Regions from separate parts of the Homo sapiens genome. Here all the other regions are linked to region 1. Evidence: promoter capture Hi-C in 16 types of primary human blood cells and fetal thymus (Javierre and others, 2016). All regions are on one chromosome and are shown on one strand. Each heading gives the region's core, a stretch centred on a gene start or on the middle of the fragment in contact. The rest is flanking DNA. Distances are from core to core; before and after follow the strand shown.

Region 1 (3,131 bases), core at 331-2,830:
GGAAATGTTGGATTTGGGTGCCTGTGGGGGCAAACAGTGGAATTAGCCACTGTTAATATTTGACGATTTGGGTCTAGAGTTCCAGAACAGGGGTAGGCTAGAGAGATGAAGTTGGGAGCTGCCATCATAGAGATGAGAGTTAAAGCAGGGAACTTTAATAAATGTGTCTAAAAACAGTACTGGAGAATATGAACACTGAGCCCAAGGGAATATCGAAAAGAGAAGAAAGATTAAAAAAAAAAAAGCAGGCCAAGGAAATGACTGAGAAGGAATAGCTGATACAGAGGGGAGGGAATTTCTGAAGGAGGGAGTGAATCATCAACACCATCACATGGCTTAGAAAAGTGGACCCTGGATTTGGCAATGATGGACATAATCCAGGTGGACTTTGAGCCTCCTCCTGCCCCCAGTGGCCACTGCATTCTGCAGCCCTGAACTCTACCTCTACCTCTGCTTTTCTTCTGCAAAATGAACCTCTTATATACAATTCTGTTTCCTACATCAGTTACTAAACTTTGAGGCATTTGAGCCAAGGGGACCCGTACTCGCACCAAGTTTCATCACAGGTGTCTAATGTGATTACAGGGGCAGCACGGTGCCCTGCACGGGAAAGTACTGGGGTCAGAGAGACCAGAGTTCAAATCGTGACTCTTTACCCCTGCGATCCCTTTGGTGCAAATGACTTAATCCGTCTCTGCCTCAGCTTTCTCCACTGTTAATTGGGCATAATGGACACAACAATGGTGAGGGGCTCTTGCAGGAATGAAGACTAGGATGAGGATGAGGATGAGGGATACGTCCATAAAGCCCCTGCACACCTTCCATTTCCTGAGCACTCCCAGGAAGTCTTTGCTGACCACGCCAAATTAGATTATCTTTGCTTAGCCATTAGGCCGCTGCCCTATATTGGGAGGCAAATATACCTCTCAGCTTCGGTGGCCAGGTCCCCTGGCACCCACTTAGTCCTCAGTCTGCACCTAAAAGCAAGCCTTCCGAGGGTCTTGCCTTGCAGGTGTAGCTCCCACCCCCCACGCTGGGGTGGTCCGGGGACCCTCTGTTTCCTCAGTGGTGGGGAAGGGACCCGTGGGTTCGTGGGTGCTGACCGACGAATGTGCGGAGGAGGGCGCGCCCCAGCATGGGGGGCGGGGGTGCTTCTTAGGATGGCTTGGAGGGGGGCGCCTGCAGGGCTGGACGGCGGACGGGGGACACTGCACTTTCTGATGCGGTCGGGGAAGCCGGGAGTCAGCCTACTGGAGTCCGCTGCCATCCCTGGCCAGAAGCAGCCAGCGCCACCCCAAGCTCCCCAGCCCCTCGCCCGTGCCGGGGCCGCCGGGGTCCGAGTTAGGGGAGAGTGGGGGGCGGCCACCGCTGCACCGCGCGGCCTTCGAAGGACTGCCCTGCGGCGCCGCGTTCCCCCGAGGCCACCCCCTCCCGCCGTCAACACTCCCCGGGGCGGGGGCTCACCTGTGTGGTCTGGGTCGCCTCCGAGGCCGAGTCCCTCGTTGCCAAGCCCAGCAGGCCTCGCTCCCCCGTGACTGCACCGCCGGCCCGCTCCAGCTTCCCGAGTACCCCACCTGTCTCCCCGGCTTCCTTCCGGCCCTTTGTGTTTTCTTCTCTTGCTCCGCCCCCTCGCCTGCCCGCTAAGCACTTAAGCTGGTGAAGTCACCCTACTGCCACCTGGCAGTCACTTTCGCTGTTGGTGGCAACCCAGGCTGGAACCCAGCTCTTGCCGGAACCCCTGCCCCATCCTTGAGGCTTGTCCCGACACCGAGTAGGTTCTAGTTCCTTTGTGCCTTCCAAATGACTCCCTTCCTCCAGCAATCACAGCCGCAACAGCCATGTATTGCGCCCCCGCCCTAGGCCAGGCGTGGGCATCACCTTTGCACTCCTTTCTGCAGCCGTGTGTGGTGCCCACTGTGACCTGCACTTCACAGACGGGTCATCTGAGTTGTGCAGGCCACTAAGGGAGCCTGGAGTCAACCCCAGGCCTGCTTGGCTCCCAGGCCTTCTCTTTCCATTGCTCTTTGTCGGTCCCCTGCTGCCTCCTGTCCCTCCCCAACTCTGACTTGTGGAGGGAAGCCTTTGACATGTGGGGGTACCTTTAATACCGATATCACTTGTTACCGGAGAGGGGTCCCGATCCAGACCCCAAGCGAGGGTTCTTGGACTTCTCGCAAGAAAGAATTCGGGGTGAGTCCGTAGAGTGAGAGCAAGTTTATTAAGGAAGTATAGAAAACAGGCCGGGTGCGGTGGCTCACGCCCATAATCCCAACACTTTGGGAGGCAAAGGCAGGCAGATCACTTGAGCTCAGGAGTTCAGACCAGCCTGGCCAACATGGTGAAACACTCTCTCTACTAAAAATACGAAAAGTTAGCCAGGCATGGTGCTCTATGCCTGTAATCCCAGCTACTCGGGAGGCTGAGGCAGGAGAATCGCTTGAACTCCGGAGGCAGAGGTTGCAGTGAGCCGAGATTGCGCCACTGCACTCCAGCTTGGGCGACAGAGCCAGACTCTGTCTCAAAAAAAAAAAAAACAAAAAAAAAACAAAAAACAAGAAGAACAACAACAAAAAAGAATGGCTACTCCACTGGCAGAGCAGCTGTGTGGGCTGCTTAGCTAATTATACTGGTAGTTATTTCTTGATTCTATGCTAAACAAGGGGTGGATTATTCATGAATTTTCCAGGAAAAGGGTGGGCAATTCCCGGAACTGAGGGTTCCTTCACTTTTTAGACCATATAGGGTAACTTTCTGACGTTGCCATGGCACTTGTAAACTGTCATGGCCCTGGTGGGAGGGTCTTTTATCAGGCTAATGCATTAAAATTAGCATTTAATGAGTAATGAGGACGACCAGAGGTCACTTTCATGACCATCTTGATTTTGGTGGGTCTTGGCTGGCTTCTTTACTGAGTCCTGTTTCATCAGCAAAGTCTTTGTGACCTGTACCTTGTGCCAACCTTCTATCTCATCCTGTGACTAAGAATGCTGAACCACCTGGGAAGGCAGCCCAGTAGGTTTCAGCCTTATTTTACTCAGTCCCTATTCAAGATGGAGTGGCTCTTGTTCAAACACCTCTGGACACAGTTACCCCAGCCATGGCTGACAAAGTTTTCTGGGCTGAGCTGCCAG
Region 2 (3,131 bases), core at 194-2,693, 400 kb before region 1:
ACCTCAGTTTCCTCATCTTCAAAACCAGGATAATTAGAGCAACTACTTGCCTGAGTTGTAAGGATAAAGAAACTATAGAGGCTGGCAAATAGTTAACACTTAGCGAGTATACTATTATTTTCTCAACACTGCAGTTTTTGCAGAACTTCAATTTTTTACTATAATAAATAGTATAACCTAATAATAGTATAACCTTTACAGACACTAGAAATCTGTAATAATATAACCAAAGGTAGAATATAAAAGACTGGAATTCTGATGTCAAATGGAAATAAATTTCAGTTGATGAATGTATTTTCCCCTGTGAAGCTACACTTCCATTGGAATAATTTGTAGGCCCTAACTTATCCTCACTTACTACAATGTATGTGTTTATGTATGTGCACCTTTCTAAGAAAATATAATGCTGTTGTTTTCACTGAGCCTTATATTAAAGAAAAACATTATAATTTATCCAATTCTAATTTTACCTTTAACATGGATATATTATATCACATTATTCTTAGGTTTGCTTTCTTGACCAATTTATCTAACAGAATAGCAGAATACTAACATGGGACAAATTTTTCTTTAAGAGGCACATGCAACTTAAAAGCCGACCTGGACTGTCCAGATATCCATCAAGCTTATCTATTGGATGTTATTAAGCTTCAGTCACAAGCTGGTCGTTCATTTTTATTAAAGTGAATTTTTCATTATGAAACCAGTATTTCATTGAGCTTTTACAAAGATTGTTTTGATAACCAAAATGAAAAGTTTTACAAATATTCTTTATTTTTAGAAATAATCAAATAAGGATATTTGAACACATGCATTGTTTTACCTGATACAGAAAATGTATGTTGCAAAAACAGGAACAAGAAACTTACTTGTGCATCTGTGTTTATCCTATACATGTCTTCTTTGGCACCAAATGTCCTCTTACAATCATCTAGCCACTAAAAATAAGTAACAGTAACGTTTAATATGCACAGTAAAATGGGTAGTGTAACAGCCTGTCCATATACAACACCAAACTTAAAGTTAACTTGAAGTTCTAGGATTGGTTGTAGACCTAGACTTTTATCTCCATTCAAGCCAAATCAATCATTTATATGGAACTAACAAAAGCAGGGATAGCATTAATGTAACAAGAGGCACACACTTGTGACAGCTATACTAACAAAACCCATTCCATTCTAGGGACCTGTGATGTTCCATTTCAGTAAAGGATATTCTTCATTTTGCAGGTTTTATGAAAATCTTTACAACCTATGCCTGACCTTTGTGTAACGTAAGACGGGGAAAGGAAAGATGTGCTTCCCCTCTGATCAATTTAATAAAGACAACTTAGAATTAAGTAGGTCTGTTTGCTTATGAGAAGTGTAATTCTCAGAAGACTAGTGTCAGTTTTAAATTTGTGAACCGGCAATCAAGATCCATTTTAAGTCTTGTTTTGTTTTTCTTTTCTTTCTTTTTGGACAGTAATGAATGACAAACAAACATGTTATTTATTTCCAAACAATACTGGATGTAGAAGCCAAATGTGGTTTTTCCTTCTCTGGGGGTATTCCTAATGTTGATATAAAAGTACAGGCTGGGTGTGGTGGCTCCTGCCTGTAATCCCAGAGCTTTGGGAGGCTGAGCGGGGAGGACTGCTAGAGGGCAGGAGTTCAAGACCATCCTGGGCAACATAGGGAGACCCTGTCTCTAAAAACATAAAATAAAAAAAAAGGAATACTTCAAAAATAAAGTACATTTTCTTCAGCAAAATATAAATAAAACAATAGCACCGTGGTATAGTAGAAAAGAAAGAACGCTGGACTCACAGAATTTCCAAGCTGAAGTAAAAGCTAAGTGCATTCCAGGTAAGCTCCTAGCTTTGGACAGTTTGATATTATCAGTTGTTTTGACTTCTAAGTTCTTTTTTTTAAATTATACTATTAAACAATACAACTAATATATATATATATATATATATATATATATATATATATATATATATATATATATGAAATCATTAGGACTTTGAGAAACAGACTAGCTGCATTAAGCAGCTACTCTGAAAGTATTTTAGTATTCGACATTTAACATTCTCTATTGTAGCTTATGTTGTACCCACAAAGAAAGAATTGAAATTTGACATTTCAGTTATTTCAAAAATGATCTCTTTGACCTTATTTTCCTTTTATTCCAGTCTCTCAGATTTCACCGGCCCTTAGGCTATTTGCTTGACAGCATCTCTGAAGAAAAACATGTTAAGCTTTTCTAGTGAGATACAGCTGATGGCAGCCATTGTCAAAAGCTATCAGTGGATTTCTTTGTATCAGCAAAATGCAGTTGACATCTAACATGGAACCTGTGCATTAATCTTTATTCATACAAAATGTTAAAATATTTATACACTTAATTATGCCTTATCTTGTCCAGTTTGTCCAAGTATACTAATAAATTTGAAAATAATTTCAGTTGATTATTTATTTAATGGCTTATTTTTATACTGTGTACCTAATGATACAGCCTTTTGGGGGGCACTATTCAAAATATTGCTGATTTTTATTCTGTTAAAAGACAAACCCCAACCATATAGTCCTGTGGCTGCACACTGGCCTGAGAGATACAGGTCCACACCTTTCCAGCCAGAGCATACAAGACATGGTAGTTTGTGCTCAGAACACCCTCCAGTTCACATCTAATCAATCAGTCTTCCTGTCACGGCATTTTCTTTATTCAAGGTTCAAATGAAGGTTAAAATTTTTAACTGTCGAGGTTCTACTTCTGGGTGTGATGGAGTAGCCTGTATAAAAGAAAGAAAGACCAATCCTGCAAGGACAATGATGGAAGCTGAATCCTATCGGCCAAAACTCACTCAAACAAACAGTTAGTTAGTTAGAGAAAAGTACCGGAGTGAGCCCAATACCCGCCCCAGTGCTTACTCTACTCTAGGTGTATTCATATTCACGTCCCTGCGCATAGAGGCTGAACAGAAAGCAGTGGCCTAGAGTTTATGCCCTACAGTTTCACTGGGCTGGGAAAACAGTTTTCAAAGATAGATAGATGATAGATAGATAGATAGATAGATCGTGAGATATTGAGGGCCAATATCCTGGAGAAAAGAGAACTGCAGAGAAGTGACCCCAATAGTCTCTGTG
Region 3 (3,131 bases), core at 251-2,750, 350 kb before region 1:
AAGAAATATAAGATGGCTAACACCAATTGCTGTGGAAAGTAGCAAACAGACTGAAGACTATTAGCCAGTGACTAGACTGAGCACTTGGAAGGTACCTGGTGAGGCTACAGAAAGGAAATTGATACTAGTGGAGTGTGAAGGCCATCTGTGAAGATCTAAGGCATGCAGGAGGACTGAGAATATGGAATAGTGAGTGTATATACTCGAGGCAAGGCACAGGGGTGAGGAAGGGGTTAGGAGCAGGTGTGAAGGAGGGAAAGGATGTGAGGAGCAAGAATGGGAAGGGCCTCAGAGCTGACAACATTTAGAGACCATTGCATTGAATCTGGAGAAAGAAAGGATCAGGGCCCTCAAATTTTAAAGTGGCAAAGTTTATGCTGATACCTGTATCTGTGCAGTAAAATTCTGAATGAATATTGTGTTTGTCTTGCCTTAGAAACAGTGAAAGTGAAAATGTAGGTTAGCTATGGAATTTGTCAGGTTGAGAGGCTGTTTTGGTTTAGAATGAACTATCTTAAGCAAAGGAGTTAAAATTAGCTGATGCTAAGGACAAGAGTGTCTGAAGAGAGAACTGAAGGAAGAATGACAAGGTGGTGGGGGTGTGGGCATGGTGGACACCTGTACCAGCACACATCCTAGGCGATGACATGACATTCTAAACAGTTACATGATCTCTTGAGACCCAGCTGGACTCCTCTACTTTCTGTGCAAAAGCCTCTAGCAGCAGCTCAGCAGCCACAAAATCTGTGTTCACGGCGGCCGCTATTTTGTGTTGATGATCACTCATATTCATCTTGGAAGGGCTGTCACGGATGCGGGGGTTGGGAAAAAGGAAGAGGCATTGCTACCAACTACCAGGGCAAACCAAACAGGTCAACTGCTTTCAAGAACTAAATGTTATGAGAATTTAAGTTGTTGTTATTGCTTTTTTCTCCCACTCAGGTCAATTAGGGATGGGAAATAAACTATTTCTATTGCTAAAATAGGTGCTGTGCAAAGATCCCAAGCCAGCTAAGTCCACTATCTCTTGAGCCCAAATGAAATAAAGGACCCACAGCAGAACTCTGCAATCTCCCAGATCCCAGTGTTGGAGCATGGCCAGTACTTACACTGGAACAAGATCTTGATGTAGGCGACAAGCAACATGTGGGAGACTAGAAAGAGTTTTGCTCGAGGCACTGTACCACCTGCTCCTATGGTTAGGGGTTTCGCTCACGGAAAACTGCCTATAACTTTATCCCTGCCTATTTTTATTATTAAACATATGCCAATACACAAAATACAATGTATTCAAGAAGTCCTATGTCTACTAAGAAATACTTTTAAGTCACATGTGAAAAGTCGTCCCTCTTGTATTTTTTTCTTTTTGATGGAGTAGGGAGCGAAGGGAAGGTCAGGTATAAAACCCTATAAGGACGCCGTTGATAGAAAAACCTAAATATTGTGACTGATCAGAATTAAGAGTTCTTATTGAAGAAAAAAATATTTCCTATGTAAAGACATGTCTGGTTTTGATTTAACCTGTAATTTAATAAATTTATAATTTTCTAAAAATTGTTTCTGAAGAAATGATTGACAAATAGAAACTACTAACCAGTTCATTGATCATACCTGAGAATATGGCGAGAGTTAGCTCAGGATACGCCCTTGCTAGTTCCTCGGACAACTGATAATATGAAACAGAATAGAGATGTGGTAGAGGAGACAGCTGGCTGAGTACTCCATCTGTTCTCTGAACCTCCAATTTGTGAGCATAGCGAAACATCTTCGGTTCCAGAATCTATAGGAATGTGATTCCATCAACTTAGGTTAAGATTTTATGGGTTCTCTAAAGTTTAACTATAATTTTATAATTTTTAAAAAAACTCTTCTCCCCAGCTGAGTGGAGTGGCTTATGCCTGTAATCTCAATACTTTGGAAGGCAGAGGTGGGAGGATCACTTGAGGCCAGGAGTTCCAGACTAGCCTGGCCAACATAGCAGGACCTCATCTCTACAAAAAAATTAAAAAATTAGCCAGATGTGGTGGTGTGTGCCTGTGGTCCCAGCTACTCAGGAGGCTGAGGGTGGAGGGTCACTTGAGCTCAGGAGGTAGAGGCAGCAGTGAGCCATGACTGTGCCACTGTACTCTAGCCTGGGTGACAGAGTGAGACCCTATCTCAAAAACAAAATGAAACAAAACAAACAAAAACTCTTTCTCACTAAAAGAATTTACATTCCTCGTATTTAATGCCAATGATCCAGGTTAGTAACACAGTCTGAAAATAACTCCAGCAACTTAATATACGATTACTTGAAAAAGATTTACCACTTTTCTCGCACAAAAATATGGTAGTACAATATATGCATAAGTGAAAAAAAAAAACCCTTCAAGGAGGACCTTTCGACATTACACTATTTAAAGAGCTGTACTGCTGAACTTTCCTCTTAATTAACAAAGGCATTAGGGTATAATTCCTAAGATGGATCTACTGGCATCAGAACCACTTCAGAGCCTTTGGAAAAAGCACCTACTTGAATCCTATTCTTAGCCCTTGGTTAAGATGGAAGAATCTTGCCCTATTATGAATTAGTTAAGTATTGCATACTAACAATATATCCGTGTTTGGTAAGTTAACTTTCTAAGTTATTTCTCCTCAACCTAATAAAGAAAATTTACATGAGAATATGATAAAAAGAGCTAATTATTTTTCACATGGCTCTCCAAAAAAATTTGGACACACATTGTTCTCATCTGCTGAACAGAAATACTTACATGGACACATATTTATAAGTACCTTCATACACATACACACACATTATCATAAATAATCCTTCTACAATACACTTAGGAATAGTCTGCATTACTTATAAATTTAAATATCTATATTATCTTTGTCTTATACTTCTAATAATAATTAGGCCTTGATACCATAACTTCTTTACTATAAATAAAGCTAAATACTATTATCAGTATGCTTTAATAGCAAGACTAAATTATTGGGCTTCATTAAATCCTGAGTAAAAAAATATTTAAATTCACATGTTTACAAACCTGTAAAAGTTGCATAGCAACTTCATAGATACTTCTAGAAGAATCAGCTGCTTTAAACAGTATCAGATTTAGAAGCATCACTGTGTCACATTGATAATC
Region 4 (3,131 bases), core at 632-3,131, 330 kb before region 1:
AGAACATATATATACAATTAGCATGTATATGTAGAAATATATATACATATATATATATTCAAATCCAAAAGTAAGAAGGACTACTCTGGGTAGGAAGTTTAAGAGATTTTAAAAAATAAGATTGAATTTGAACTATATTAGATACGGATATGCAAAAATTAAAAAAAAAAAGGTATCCTACGCTCATGTGAACAAAAGCTCACAAAATGGAAACTATCAACCACACTTAATGAACTCTGAGGGGATAATTTGGTTCCAACTTTGAAAGTATTGATAGAAAGTAAGAAAAAAGGTACAGAGTGAAGTCAGGTTTGAAGAGCCTTTAATGTAGGCCTCCAGTGATAGGTCAATCCAGATGCTGGGTTTACATGGGCAAGTTATATGCTGAGAGGACTCATTCCATTCAATGTGATCAGTGGTGTACTCTGTAAGGAGAAATCAGGAACCCAAACCCAGATTCAAAAATTCTCCTCTGTATTTAAGAGCAAAAAAACAAAACAAAACAAAAACTAACTGAAATTTATAATGACCTTGGTCAACTCTCCATTTCATCATCAGTTATTCCAAATCTTTACCAACATCCTCAAATCTCCTACTCAGTGTGTTATTACCACTCCCCACCAGAAGGTGGCCTTCCTTACACTGTCATCGGGAAAAGTAAGGCCACTGAGCTGAGTTTCGCTCTGCTTCTCACCCTTTATCTACAAACTTCTGTGTCTACATCCATACTCATCCTTAGATTCTTTCCCAATTTTTTCCCTTAACACAGATTCGATGGACACAACTATGTACCAAGTACAGTGTTATTAAGTAAATTAATAATTAAAATTTGGTGAGACTGTATTACATGAAAAGGATGAAGAAGTTATGAGACTATGTCCTTGACAACATTCTTCTCCCTCCTTAAGACATCAATGCAGTATCACATATTATTTATGGGCCTTCCAATCTGTAATACTTTTGAATTTTTCAAATAAATACATATGAAAGCTGACAGTCTATACATTTTTAAATTTACACTAGGAAAATAACTTACTTTATATCGACCTGAGGGGACAACAACTGAAGTCTTGTGTATGCAAACATCCAAGCATAGCTCACAGCTGTAGAGCAGTGTTTAGGAAGATTTTCTTGCTTTAAAAAACTGGAGAGACTTATAATCCATGGGTCTTGGCCTTGGGTCACATGTGCAAATATCCATATATGTGATGGACTAATCACATCAAACTGGTGGCTAATAGGAGAAGAGTTCCATTCTGCTAAAGTTTGTAAATCTATCGAGCTAGGGCAATAGAGCAAAGTAGTCTATATGGAGAGGAAAAAATTGATTATTACACATTTCAATAACTTTGAAATTTTACCATATAAATTGCTTTAAACTGAAAGTGGTGTATTAGTAGTTTCTAAAACAAGATAATATAAAGTCCATGGTAGGTTGAAGGGAGTAGAGAATTCCTGAAACTGCATGTAAAGTTTCTGTATGTGCATACATGTCTTTTTTTTGGAGAGGGATTCCACTGTTTTCATTATTCTCAAGAGGACTATAAACCAAAGAAGTTCAGGACCACTATTTAAGTAATTCTTAAATAAATATCCAAATTTCATCGTATACCAAAAGCTGCCAGAGAACTAAAGAGTGAACCATTAACTTTCATGTTGACCTGTATCTATGTATGTGTGGAACAGACTCAAAAATGAGCTCTTCTCCAGAGGTATATATTCTTAAATACTTGTTCAATATTTGAACTCTTATACTGAAGAGATAAACATTTATGTTCAAAGAAAAGTATATTAAGCACTGCTTTAGGCACAAGAAACAAGTCATCCATTACTCTCTTTTTGGAATAATTCATAATTTATGGTTAATATCTAAAACAAAATGTTTTGAATTGTATAGATCCTTTCATAAAATAACTAGAAGAGAGGCTTTTAAAGGTTCTTACCACAAATAAATGATAAACACATGAGATGATGGATACACTAACTACCCTGATTGGGTCATTATACAATATAGACATGTATGGAAACATCAAATTGCACCGCATAAATATGTACAATTGTATCTATTTAAAAATAAATAAAAATTAAAAATTAGTTTTTTAAAAAGTTTAGCATCATGGTAGCATCATGGCGGGGGGGAATTGTACAGATTTCTAATAATCTCTTAGGCTTATAAAACCTTATTACCTCCCTTGGCTACATATAACTCATGAATTATAAGAATCAGGTGTTATGCCGCAAGCTCTTAATGTTATGCATTAACCTCTTGACCATGTATTCTAAAATAGGAGGAAATATTTTTAAATAGTAAGGTTTTATAGCTATTCTTACATCAACTTTGGAATCTTAATATATGACCTTTTACCCAACCAAGACCAAGCAAGAAAGTTTGCATAAACTTTGTTAGTAATATGTTTGTGGACAAAGTGTTTCTCTCCATTTTAATGAGTCAAATTACATATGACATTGGTATAAAACACTATGTACTTAATCCACTATACTTAAACTTATGTGATACACAAAAAACAGTTGCCAAAAAAGCAGGGTGTAAGTTTTTGCTTTGAGTATCACCATTTTTTTCCCGTAGCATTTTCACAAGTATTTCTATCTCACGAATATTATATGCCATAATAAAGAGCAAACGGTAGCATAAAGATTCCATTTAACAGAAACTTCTTAGATTGGAAGGATGAGAATTTTACAAACATAAAATAATTTTTATTTCTATGTAGAAGAGTACTTAACCAAGTATAAATGAATGTCACTTTTTAAGTACTACTCTTAAGCATTTTCTACTTTTCAAAAATACTTTCTAACTCATTACATTTGTTAAGGAAGTTATTTTATGTATGCACATGTACATGTATACATATGTGTCTGTCATAAGTCTCAAAACAAGATTGGGTAGAATGAAGTCACTATAGTTACCTGATCAGCCCCAGTGAGATGTATGAAGCTCTCAAGAATGGATGGGCTTAGCCTGTCCATCACATCTATGGCTAATTCATCATCACCCTGTAAAAAAGACATCATATGTCTAAAAAAATTAGGAATGTTTAAGCAAAGTAGCCAAACCCAAGTAAACACTAAAAATTCACTTCAGCACTATTTTTTTTTTTTTTTTTTTGAGA
Region 5 (3,131 bases), core at 197-2,696, 300 kb before region 1:
CTGTCATGAAACAAAGCAGCCTTCCAGAAACATTTAAATGCATATCTTAAAAATATTTTAATGAACGTATGAAAAATCATACTATCCAGAAAAATGATCAATTCTCTTTTGGTCCCTATATCTGTACAAATTACCAAAAATAAGAACAGAAATAAGTATAATGTAATTAATTAAATAAAATTTATTTCCTGGTTGCATGACATAAAGAGTTCAATCAGTTTGATTTGGTCCTGGGAATTTTCATAAATAGTCAAATAAGGCATATAAATTCTCATCCAAACATGAGTAATATCAACGTTTATCTAGAAGGAAAATAGACAAAAACATTTCTCAAAGTAGTATATATTCCGTATACCTAAGAAACTGAGGCAGTTTTGAAAATTATACATAAAATCATGAAAAAGACGTACAGGATAACATCCAGTGGATCATTCCTGAAATATGAAAGAAGATCCAGTCCTATTCCTACAATAGCACAACGAGCTGCATACCCAGAGACAAGTCACTTTCTCTATCTGCCTCGGTTCCATTATCTTCAAAGTATAAGGTTTTCAGTCTCAAGTCTAACTTAGAGGAATACCAGGAAATGGAATGTCATGTCTGCAATATTTCTATAACTTGCAAGCAAATATTCAAATAGGCTCATCTAAGTATATATCAAAAGAATATTCAAATCAAGCATTCGCATGACATGCAGCTGAAGAATATTCCCACACTGTCAGAATTGTGTTCCTACCCAAAGAAGAAAAGAGGATCCTGCTAGCAGAGCATCCTGGGAAGAAAATGATCCTTCTATCTCTCACAGTTTTGTTTTCAGGACTAAGAGAGGCTGAATATGGATGTGCCAAATAGTGTTAATGACAAGTACCCTTTCATTCAAGTCAGAATCATTTCAGGAGCTTTTACATCTGTGCAGATCCAGTACCAACTTTTAGATATGGCCGGGCATACTTAAATGTGATTTTAGTGATATTATCAAAGCTTTTTCTCATATTGTTCAGACTTAAACCAACATTACTGATTTTCTCAAAAGACAAAATAAGTATCTAGAAGGTTTTGTGAGATTAATACTCTATAATTCTAAAAGAATTAACAAATATTCCTAGATTTAAGATAATATAAATATCACTAAAAATGTACAATAATCTTGCATTCATTAGGACAAACTAAATTTTCAATCAAAAGTTTACTCATATCTATACATGATTCCCTATAGAAGAAATACAGTAGGTATAAGAAAAGGAATGTGGCAAAGTGTTGCTATTCAAGTATACCAATAGTAACAAAAGTTTCATTATGCACTGTTCAATTTATATGCATAAACAAAATATACCAGTCAGTATTTACATATCAGAAGTGTGATTACATCTTACCTTTAAATGTGACAAACAGTTCTGTAGGAAAATATGCCAGTTATTTAAAAAAAATTGTTTCTGACTGACACATAAAAGGCAGGTAATTAGTGGATATAAAGCCTATAGGAGACGGGGAAAAGACAGAATTAACATTTTTCATCGAAAAGCACTGGACTTTTAAATTTTATATTTCATTTATTCTCATAAGCAAGGAAACAAATCTTTTAAGCAGTTTTCCAATTCGTAATAAGAAATATAATCTCATAGAATAATCTAACACAGAAAGATAAAGAGTAAATTTTCTACGAGGAAAATTCCTTGACTGATCATACCTCTCTGAGTTAGAATATGCTATTAGTTCTCCCTCAACCCATTAGCCTCTCATCCATTTTGTGGTTATGACTAGTCCCTGGGATCAGATGACAGATGGCATTAAAATGTTAGCTTTCTGTTTGTCAAATGTGTAACTTCACGATGGCTACATTAGGTACTCTAAGCCTCACTTTCCAAACACATAAAGTAGAGGACAATAATCACAAATATCTTATAGGGTTGTGAAGCTTAAAGTAAGAAAAAAAAAAGTACAAAGTACTTAGTTCAATGCCTGGCACAATCCATGTTTAGAATTACTGTATCTCTAGTTTAGAAGGTCAAATATTTCACCAATTCTCCAAACTTTCTCCAAGCTACGTAAAAGTTATGTGAAATAGACAGGTAGAAAAAAATGCCTTCAATCTCTGACTAGAAAAGACGTAATTAGACAGAAAACAGCTGCTAAAATCACTTTATGACAGTGATCCCCTGAGGTTACAACATATTTTTACTGTACCTTCTCGTGTTTAGATACACAAATATTATTCTGTTACAACTGCCCACAGTACAGTAACATGCTGTACAGGTTTGTAGTCTGGGAGCAATAAGCTATACCATATAGCCTAGGTGTGTAGTAGGCTATACTATTTAGGTTTGTGTAAGTACATTCAATGATGTTTGCACAATGAAATAGCCTAACGACACATTTCTTAGAACATATTTCCATCATTAAGCAATGCATGACTACCTAGAAGGAAGTCTGAACAACTCAACAAATGCAGAGCTAGTAAAATTAAGAACAGAACATTTAAATAGAGCCACGCAAAACATACGTATGTAAAACTTGCCCTTGTATTGCACTTCAGGGATTTTACAATTTCAGATTTTACCATTCTCTTAAATTTCCACTGAATTCATAAATCAATTACTAAAAATCCCAATTAAATATGAAAAGGTTTGAAATGTTTCTTAATACCAATGAATGCTTCTTTCTCGAGCTCAGTTCAAAAGTAGTCTGATAAAGCATCTCCACAAAATTTTTCAAACAGGGAACATTCACTTCATTTTTAACAGCCTAGTAAAAAGATAATGCAAACAAAGAAAATGATACAGATGTTAGATTAAACTATACAAAGAATACAAGAACTTTCTGTAAGGTTTGAAATTGGTTAATAATTCACTGAGACTCTCACTGAAGTACTACAATGTGCCAAGTGACCAAATGTTAAGTACATAAGATAAACCTAGTCCCAGCCCTGAGTGAACAAAGTGGGAATACAGGCTAAGAGGACACAGTATAACAGGTCCACTGAGAGCAAATTCTCTGTGCTCTTGGAGCACTCAAAAGGGGCCCCTATGGAAAAACTCAACAAGGAAGTAACATCTAAGCTGCATCCAACATCTCTTAACAGAAATAGTGCTAAAGCCTCCCATTTAACCTTGCTGGCCTTATCTCCCACCCTC
Region 6 (3,131 bases), core at 282-2,781, 290 kb before region 1:
TTAATTTTTTTATATTTTGTAGAGATGGGGTCCCCACTACTAAAAAAAGTGTTATGTTTATAGGTCTTTTTTTTTCTTTTTTTTCCCCTACATGAAGACCTATCTGGACTGTGTTAAAAGAGGAGGAGGAGGGCTACAAAGGCAACAAGGAGGGGAAGAGGACAGGGAGGATGAGGGGGAAGAGATGGGAAAAATGCCTCCACAGGGTTGCCTGTGAATTGTAGTTCTGAAGCCAGTGCAATTGGGCAACTTTAGGATGAGGAGCGAGACTGACATCTAAGAAAAGGATGCCATGGGAAATGAACGAAGGAGGAAGGCACAATGGGGCCAGGTCACTGGGGTTCCTGAATGCTAATGTAGGGAGTCTGCCATTTCTCTGGCTGGAGGAAGAAACCCTATACTGTTTAAGCAAAAAAGTACAAATACTGGTTACCAATCCACTTAAATGAAATACATTTAGCACACAAGATACACCAGGGATAAATCACAATGAGCAGTAGTCAGAGTCCATTGCTGGGCTGTGGCCATATCCAGTCCTTAGCTCTTCCTATCCTAGTGACTGCTGCCTTAAGGTCTTAGTATCTCAGTTAAACCAAGAGATCACAGAAGTCAAATTTGGCTTGTTAGCACAACTCCCAGAGGAGATTTCTTTCCTACCTCTACCAAAAAACGTTTATGAAATGCATATATTAAAGTGATTTAACCTTTAATTAACTCTTCTGTTTTACATATTTAAAATTATGTTTATTTGCAGATTTCAGAGTACCAAAGAACTGTCTTTTCATATTCCTTGTAAAAATAAAAGCTAAATAAAACTGATTATATAATTCAAGTACTTTTATACTATGAGAAAAACAGACTGTCAATTAATTTTATATCTTGTATTTGCTGTTTGTCACATATTCCTTTCTATGTAACAAAAACAAAACTCCCTGTCCAAATGTGTCATATCCAAAATATGACTCTGACCTTTAGGCTTCCTAACTTGTTTCAAAAGAATACAATGTTCGTGCCTGGAAATACATGGATCATCCTTGAATGATATAACTTTAAAGACCATGATCTTTAAAAAAAAAAAAAAAAAAAGCTTTCAAATTCAGCACAGGCATTTATACTGATCTGGAGTAATAAAAATATTAAGACTATACCTGACACTATATTATATATTCATATCTTTACTGTGTATCTATCCCATTCAAGTGCAAGCTCATGAGTTTATTGCCTAAAACAGTGCCAGCACACAGTAGGCATTCTAATACTCATTGAATGAATAAACATTCCTAACTTATTATCTGAAGTATTCTCACTTGACTGAAAAACATTTGCACATGACAATTCAGTACCCTTATCAAATCACCCCATGCCTCTACTAAAAGTGCACAATTATTACATGTTGGAATGCAGGCTTGGGGGCTTAGAGGAGAAATAAAGTGGAATAAGGGACTGAAGTAGCTGAATGGCAGGCAAACTACATTTACAGCTAAAGGTCAATATTAACACAATTTCCATTCAGCTCCATTTTGCTAACAAGATTTTATATCTTGGATAAGCATACAAAGGTAAAAAATAGAGGAGATAACAGATAGGTACAGGGCAGGAAAGCCCCAGGCAACTGAAAGAAGTATAATGAAATTACAGGAATTTAATTTATGTGGGCTAAAATTCTAGACACAGCATCTTAAAGTAACTGAAACACGAAGGCACAGTAAGCAAAGAATAAGGAATACAGACTTTGCAGAAATAAAAGAGCTTACCTGCTTTAGAACTTCAACTAAAACTAAACAAAAAATGAAGTCTACTGCTAAGTCCCTCCTTTCAAGAAGATAATCTCTTTCACGTTGCTGTTCATCCCTGAAACAAGAATCCAAAATTAGTACTGCATTAAGATTATGACTTTAAAAATACCTGTTAGTTAGTAGCTCATGTCGCTTACTGTTTTCCTACTATGTAAAATGTGCTACAGCAATTGTTAATATGAAGCTTTTTGTTTTTTATTTTTGTCTTTTTGGTTTGAGACAGGGTCTCGTTCTGTCACCCAGGCTGGAGTGCAATGCTGCAAACATGGCCCACCGCAGCTTCAACCTCCTGGGTTCATGTGATCCTCCCACCCCAAGTAGCTAGACTACAGGCAAGCGCCACCATGCCCAGCTAATTTTATTTTTTCTAGAGAAGGGATCTCCCTATATTGCCCAGACTGGTCTCAAATTCCTGGGTTCAAGTGATCCTCCTGCCTGAGCCTCCTAAAGCAGATTACAAGCATAAGTCACAGTGCCTGGTCTGAAGCTTTTTAATAATCCAACATATGCAAAAACATGTTTTTATGTTCTTTCCCTTTTTATATACGGGGTGTTTATTCAGAGTTCACTATTATATCTGTTAGCATTTAAACTTAACCTAAAAGAATTAGTAAGAAGAAGAAAAGTATTTTAAATTTCATTTAGAAAATGTAGCATTGTTCCATATTTGATTACTAGTATTTTGTTAAGAACTGAAACAAAAGTATTAACTTTTCAACATGAAAATACAGTACAAGGTATCCTTCTCACAAATTTAAGTTGAAAAATCACAAGTGGCATCTACTGAAGTCCAACACTAAACCATGGACAATCACCTGAACACACGTGGCTCTTACATGCATGACAAGATCATCCTGGGAAATTTGAAGGAGAAGAAAACAAGTTCTAGGAATTGAGCTCCAAGAACAGTATCATAGTACTATTATAACACAGGGTTTTGGCAGTCTTCCTGTATTACAATAATTGCCTCCCTTCATAAACCATATGAACAGGAACTTCTTTGAATATTTTCTTAACTTTATGACTATTAAAAGCTCCTCACTGAACTGCTGAAATGGCACTCCTAAATAGGTTTTTGTATTACTAATTTTTGCATGATACCCAGTATGAGTACTGTAGGGCTACATCTAGTTTAACTGGTACCTTCTCTTGATTTACAGTTTATGTGTGAACTATCCTTCTCCCTTACTACCATCTTTGTAACAAAAGTAATCAACGCAGTTTGCTTAGGAATCAAACAATAACAACCTTCAGTTGATAATATCACCCCTTCATTGGAAGTGTGTTAATTCCAGGTGAAACAGTGTAAAATAAAGCACTTACCCCTTAGACTTT

Evidence for each region. Contacts are between HindIII fragments. The CHiCAGO score rates a contact against its expected background, and 5 or more counts as called.
Region 2: a contact is called between a fragment that was not itself captured here and the fragment with the promoter of OCIAD2 in region 1, in 1 of 17 cell types (activated CD4 T cells). The highest score is 5.4, in activated CD4 T cells.
Region 3: a contact is called between a fragment that was not itself captured here and the fragment with the promoter of OCIAD2 in region 1, in 4 of 17 cell types (total B cells, total CD8 T cells, total CD4 T cells and 1 more). The highest score is 6.0, in total B cells.
Region 4: a fragment that was not itself captured here is called in contact with the fragment with the promoter of OCIAD2 in region 1 in 10 of 17 cell types (non-activated CD4 T cells, naive CD4 T cells, naive CD8 T cells and 7 more); the score reaches 11.9 in non-activated CD4 T cells.
Region 5: a contact is called between a fragment that was not itself captured here and the fragment with the promoter of OCIAD2 in region 1, in 4 of 17 cell types (total CD8 T cells, naive CD4 T cells, total B cells and 1 more). The highest score is 6.1, in total CD8 T cells.
Region 6: a fragment that was not itself captured here is called in contact with the fragment with the promoter of OCIAD2 in region 1 in 6 of 17 cell types (naive CD4 T cells, total CD8 T cells, total CD4 T cells and 3 more); the score reaches 6.3 in naive CD4 T cells.

The regions. Positions count from the first base shown.
Region 1 is chr4:48,905,194-48,908,324 of GRCh38, forward strand. OCIAD2 (OCIA domain containing 2) reads right to left here and starts at 1,581. Exons shown (of 7, transcript NM_001014446.3): 1 at 1,465-1,581. RefSeq lists a silencer at 1,259-1,518 and an enhancer at 1,809-1,888. The HindIII fragment of the contact is 6,070 bases long and covers 1-3,131 here.
Region 2 is chr4:48,504,678-48,507,808 of GRCh38, forward strand. It overlaps FRYL (FRY like transcription coactivator), which reads right to left. Exons shown (of 64, transcript NM_015030.2): 60 at 870-938. Among named protein-coding and RNA genes, the nearest start is that of ZAR1, 16 kb to the left of the region's middle. The HindIII fragment of the contact is 1,594 bases long and covers 647-2,240 here.
Region 3 is chr4:48,559,857-48,562,987 of GRCh38, forward strand. FRYL (FRY like transcription coactivator) reads right to left here. Exons shown (of 64, transcript NM_015030.2): 32 at 3,033-3,131; 33 at 1,612-1,780. Among named protein-coding and RNA genes, the nearest start is that of ZAR1, 71 kb to the left of the region's middle. The HindIII fragment of the contact is 6,143 bases long and covers 1-3,131 here.
Region 4 is chr4:48,577,937-48,581,067 of GRCh38, forward strand. FRYL (FRY like transcription coactivator) reads right to left here. Exons shown (of 64, transcript NM_015030.2): 22 at 2,929-3,015; 23 at 1,037-1,305. Among named protein-coding and RNA genes, the nearest start is that of ZAR1, 89 kb to the left of the region's middle. The HindIII fragment of the contact is 9,807 bases long and covers 1-3,131 here.
Region 5 is chr4:48,600,647-48,603,777 of GRCh38, forward strand. It overlaps FRYL (FRY like transcription coactivator), which reads right to left. Exons shown (of 64, transcript NM_015030.2): 12 at 2,644-2,742; 13 at 1,374-1,475. Among named protein-coding and RNA genes, the nearest start is that of ZAR1, 110 kb to the left of the region's middle. The HindIII fragment of the contact is 934 bases long and covers 980-1,913 here.
Region 6 is chr4:48,617,520-48,620,650 of GRCh38, forward strand. It overlaps FRYL (FRY like transcription coactivator), which reads right to left. Exons shown (of 64, transcript NM_015030.2): 6 at 3,120-3,131; 7 at 1,755-1,851. Among named protein-coding and RNA genes, the nearest start is that of ZAR1, 130 kb to the left of the region's middle. The HindIII fragment of the contact is 893 bases long and covers 1,086-1,978 here.